Linked DNA regions of Homo sapiens: region 1 is linked to region 2. The links are contacts of gene promoters, found by promoter capture Hi-C in blood cells and fetal thymus (Javierre and others, 2016). All regions are on one chromosome and are shown on one strand. Each heading gives the region's core, a stretch centred on a gene start or on the middle of the fragment in contact. The rest is flanking DNA. Distances are from core to core; before and after follow the strand shown.

Region 1 (2,700 bases), core at 201-2,700, 1.1 Mb before region 2:
CCTTTCGCAGATTTCACATGATCTTTTTAAGATTTAAATAAAGAGCTTTCCTAAATAAAATAAGCAATAGTTAACTTTAGAAACTGTACTCTATGAAACGTGTTTTATGAAAACATCTTTTACAAAAAGTGCTTACTTGACTAACTCAGCAAGAAAGGTTTAATGTACACATTTCACATCTAAAATCAAAACCTACAAGAAACTGCACTGCCTTCACTATTTACAAATCGGCCTACAAGGAAAAAATTATTCTCATGAGAGGTGTGACAAACACTAATTTTCCTTAACAGCCAATATCTACATGCAGGCCTAAATTAGAAAAAGGCAATGGATTAATCCCAGAGACCTATATATAGAAAATCACAAGAGTGAAACCGTGTCTCAGAGTTAAAGAAACCAGGGACTAACAGAAATTCTTGAGCATGCAGGACGGCAGATAAAAAACAACTTGCTAAATAAAACGCCTAAACTTCTTCCATTGTGAGATTAAAAAACAAAACAAAACAAAACAAAGCAAACTGGCTGAAAGTGGTTAGTACTAACACGGATGGCTACCTGGAGTCTGTACAAAATGAGCTTGCTGGCGTCACAGCTTGAATCTTTCCCCATGTTTCACACTGACTCCCTCCAAAATTTGCACATGCGACCCATGAAGGGACATGAAGAGGTAACTGCGAACGCCAGAGGATTTTCCAGATGGCTTCTTTCCTTCCACCAATCACCTACTAATCCCAGAATCCACCCCCTAAACGTTTTCTAATAAAAATACTGTCTTAAAGCCAACACAGGGAGACAGATTAGAGCTATACTCCTGTCTCCTTGTTAGCTGACTCACAATGAAAACTTTTCTCAAAAAATCAGCGCCATAATATTGGCTTCTGTGCGTATAGGGCAACAAGCCCCGTTTGTTTGGTAACAAGATTAGGATGCCATTACAAAGTGCTGTTTCTCTTTCTTTCCCCAGATTTGAGATTTCCAGGCGCTTTCCCTGTCCCTGTATCTGTTCATCTTCTGCATCATTCTCTTCTCCATATCCACACCATTCTTCCATCTTTCCCATTTCTTTCTTAACTGTAAAACAGAATGCATGATTCAAAATATTTGTAGTTCTCTGTTACTTAAAGTGAAAGTTATCTTTAAAAAAAAACAAACCCAACCAAACCAAACGATGCAAATCAGGTAGTTTGTAGTGATATTTATGTGAGGTTGGATTTGATTTTAAGGTTGAGAAAAAGTTTTTCCAAATTTGATTTACACAGTTGTGGGATGAAGGGTAAGCAATCGGAGAAAATGTGAGAATTGCCTATATTAATACACATCCACACACCCAGGCCTGCACAGACTCGTTGGTCCTGGAGAGTAAACGCATTCCTCCCAAACCCAGCAGCGCCTGGCAGGACAGAGGCGGGCGGGGACCTGGCTCAGGGGGCGGCTGCCTCGCCAGGCGCCACGAAGCCCCGGCGTCCCACAGGTCCCGGAGGCCGCTGCGTCGCGGGGAGCTGGGCTCGGGCCGCCGGCGGTTGCGCCGGGGCAGCCCCGCGGGGAGAGCACCATGAGGACTGACTCGGGGGCTCGGCTGGAGGAGGGCCACCTGGTGAGCGGCGAGGGGCGCGTCGGCCTCGAGAGGTGGCGGGTAAACAGCTACACTTGGCAGTGGGGGTGGGTGTGTGTGGGGGGGCGCCAACGAGCTGGGAATCACTAAGGGAGGGCCTTGCTCGTGGGGTGCGCGCATCCGCCCCTCCAGTGTTCACAGGAATGGGACGGAGACGCAGGCGAGGCCGGGACCGAACTCCCGGAGTGGGAGAGAGAGGCCTGGCATGAAGTTTGCGGGGACCTGAGCCCGCGTTGCCACGACGACGCCTCACTCATCTGAGGCCCGGGGCCCGGCGGGTGCCGGGGCTTCCAGCCAGGCCTCTCCTAGACTCCTCCGAGGAGAGGTCTGTAGCTGCCCAGAAGAGATCTGTTCGCCTGCGGAGTCCTTTAATTAAGGTCTTCCGTCACGCCCCGCTTCCCGCAAACAAATCACCGCCACCACTTAGGAAACCACGGGAAAGCTGTGATTGCAGCGCCACGGTCGCCAGATTTCTGCTCCTGGGCACATTACCCCCAACTCCGAGGCCCCCTTTTTGGCAGGGCTAGTCTGGACTGGCCAATCCAGGTCCCTGCACGCCTCTCACCGCAACATCCCCGCAGGGCGCTGCGCGCGGGGTACTAGCCAGGCGGCGCGGCCCGATGACGCATTGCGCCTGCGCGCGCGACCGAGCCGGGAGGGGTGGGGCGCCAGGTGCTTGGGGGCCGGCGGCCGCCGAGGCCGGCTAAACGCAGAATGGGGAAGAATCCTGTGGTAAGCGAGCCTTAGCTACTTTTAATTGTTAGGATTTTTGTCTTCAGTTGAGCCGTCCTACTTTTGAGGATTAGAGGTTGGGTCTCTGGGTGGGTGGAACGTCATTTTTGCGGGACTTTTGAAATCAGTTACGTGAACAGAGCCCTGGGATCGATCGCGCGCGCTTCGTAGCATCTTTAGAACAATAGCGCGTTCCTGTGACTGTCATTCTTCTCCAATTGTAATTTTGACTACTGGATGGTATTACGGCAGCTTGCCTCGTCCTAATCTTGTAGTACTTGCATTAATCTACTGTTCGAACGAATGGATTGCTAAATGGGACAAACTACAAGAGTGTCTAAAATTTAACCCTTTTG
Region 2 (2,700 bases), core at 165-2,664:
CCCTTCTTCCTAAAATACCCTTCCTCCATCTCTGCAGAAGGTGGACTCATTCTGACTCCTAGCCCTCAACTTAAATGTCCACTCATTTCCTCGCACCTAGTTATCACTCTCTGTCACCACTTTGCTTAGTGTCTGTTTCTCCCACTTGAACAAGGGCAGGCAAACTATGGCCCATGGACCACCATTTGTTTTTGTCTGGCCCATGATCTAAGAATGGCTTGTACATATTTAAGTGTTTGAAAAAGCTGCATTTTTAAAAGAATATTTTTTGACACATGAAAATTATGTGAAATTGGAATTTCAGTGTCCATAAAGTTGGAACTAGCAATGCTCATTTGTTCAGGTTTTGCCTATGCCTTCTTTTAGACTACAACTGCTGAGTTGAGTAGTTGTGCATGGCCCACAAAGCCTAAAATATTTACAGAACAAGTTTTCTGCATGTTGTACTGGAAAGTAAGGTTGAACGCCCATTATTTGTCTCTTCCAGTCCTTTACTCTCAGTGCTTGCTCCATAGCTAGTGCTTAATAATTACAGGTTGAACAAACCTTCCCTCTCTCCTAAGACTGTTAATATCTAAGGGGATAGGTTGACTTACCTCTCTTTGGCTTATTCTCTTCTAAGAGCCAGTCAGGGAAATTTGGAACCAAATATTTTTGATTTTGGGGAAGCACCTTGAAAACAGGACTGTTATATTTCTCTTGAAATATCTAGCACAGTACCTTGCACAAGGTAAGATGGTGCTAGAAACTGGAAGAACTGTTTTAGGGTTATCGTTAACAGGAAATTAAGTAGTGCATGCAAAGCACTTAGCACAGTGTCAGGTGTACAAAAGTGTTGAATAAATGTTTGCTCTCGCCTCAATTTTCCTTGCTATAATGGGAAATAAATATCACCCTTTATATCACTGTCACACAGACTAAACAAGAATGCTGTGTGTGAAAAAGCTTTGTAAGCTGCAGACACTATCCAGATAGACTTATCCAAGTGCAATATATTAACACACGTTGGCACTGAGCAGCCCTGTTTGGAGGGATGGGCACTGACCTGGGGGTGAGAACACTTAACATCCTAATTCTTGCCACTTATTAAGTGACCTTGGACAATCGCAACTTCTGCGGCTGTTTCTTCTCTTCACCTGTAAAACCAGCCTCTGAACACACAAGACCGTCCCTTGGGGTTCAGCCCTGGCCTTCTCTACCGTGTGTTTCCCTTACCTCCGGGATGGAAGACCCACCCGACTCCGAGGCGGCCCACTGGGGCGAGACGAATCTGGGGGCGGGGCGTGGCGTGGCGTGGCGTGCCCGGGACGTGGCCTCCCTCCCTCCCTGAGCCGCTGCCTCAGAGCCGGGCCGCACGGGGGCGCCGCTGGGGCCGCTCTGCTCCCGAGTTGCCGAGCAGCTGAGAAGGCGTTCACTTCCGCGTCCGCCCCGCGGCGTCCGGCGGCCGCGCCGAGGGTCTGGCGGGCCGCAGGTCAGTCTGGGAAGCTGCCGACCCGCCCCACCCCCCCGGTGCGGAAGAGCCGGGCGCGGGATGGGCCGCGGGCCCGGAAGGCGGCGGGGCGCCCTGAGGAAGGGCACGGGCCGCGCTGGTAACGCGCGCGCCCCGGGCTGCAGGCTCGGGCTTCGGGCCGATTTGGGGTCTCCAGGCCGCGGAAGACCGTGGCGGGGCTTTCTGGCTCCCCAGCTCCTCCCGGCTCTTCCCGCTTCGGAAGAGGAGTGTGAGCCCCTTGAGCGATGTTTTTCAAAGTGGGGTTCGCGGGCAGATCCCGACCCCTCCTCAGACTTTCTGAGGAACTGTGTGCTGTGGCCGGAGTGTCTTCGTTTTCCCAAGCGTCCCTGATGGTTTTGATGCAGGTGATCATAGGAATGCACTCTGGGGGACATTGTCCCCGAGGGCTGGACACTTTCCACATAGCAGGGAGCCTAACTGGGTGCTTTTGAGGATGGGGCCTGCGGAGTGCCCCCCTGGTGTGGCCTTGGAATGATGATGTTCCTATCCTTAGGAGAGACTGCCTGGGGTTGGGGTAGGAGGAGTAGCTCTTAAATCCTCGGGATCGGGGTGCTGCTGTGTTATCGTAGCCAAGTCTTGAGATGGACAGATGCTTAGAGAGTGAAAGGGCTGGGTCAGGATCCATAGGGGTGAAACAGTGCTGGAGGAGGCGGTGTGGGGTGAAGCAGGAAGAACTTGGGGTTCGTCCTGCCGTTCTGGATTGGGGCTGGCTCCACAACCTACTAGCAGTCAGTCCTTGTGTGGCCCCTGTACACATCACTCTTTTTTTTTACCCCAATGGCCTCATCTGTCAACAGGGACAGTAATTCCCATCCAATAGAGTTTTTGTGTGAATTAGGTAAAGTGTGTCAAGTGTCTCTTACAATGGCTGGCACATAATAAGCATTCAGTAAATGGGAGTTATTAAGAGTGACACAGGCCCTGGCTTCCTTGGCCTACAGACCAAAAAGTAGGGATTAAACAAGTGGGGTAAAAAGTGGACAGACACACAGTATATTTGTAGAATTGTGCAAGGATTCTAACTTGGGGGGCAGAAGGATACGTGGGACGGTCATGCAAGAAATTAGGTTTGCTGAAGGCCTTGAAGAATAGATAGGATTCCAGGGAGCCAGTAATGAGGCAGAGGGAACAAGTTCCATCCCATGCCTCAGAGGTGGCTCTCACACATGGATCTTTGGAGTGCTGCTCCC

What was found. Contacts are between HindIII fragments. The CHiCAGO score rates a contact against its expected background, and 5 or more counts as called.
Region 1: a contact is called between the fragment with the promoter of TMEM237 here and the fragment with the promoter of KCTD18 in region 2, in 3 of 17 cell types (monocytes, non-activated CD4 T cells and total B cells). The highest score is 6.3, in monocytes.

What each region holds. Positions count from the first base shown.
Region 1 is chr2:201,642,253-201,644,952 of GRCh38, reverse strand. It overlaps TMEM237 (transmembrane protein 237), which reads left to right and starts at 1,450. Exons shown (of 13, transcript NM_001044385.3): 1 at 1,450-1,594. The coding sequence starts at 1,553. It overlaps MPP4 (MAGUK p55 scaffold protein 4), which reads left to right. Exons shown (of 22, transcript NM_033066.3): 22 at 1-79. RefSeq lists silencers at 1,332-1,591, 2,162-2,351. The HindIII fragment of the contact is 8,699 bases long and covers 1-2,700 here.
Region 2 is chr2:200,508,782-200,511,481 of GRCh38, reverse strand. KCTD18 (potassium channel tetramerization domain containing 18) reads left to right here and starts at 1,414. Exons shown (of 7, transcript NM_152387.4): 1 at 1,414-1,854. RefSeq lists a silencer at 1,182-1,641. The HindIII fragment of the contact is 2,465 bases long and covers 948-2,700 here.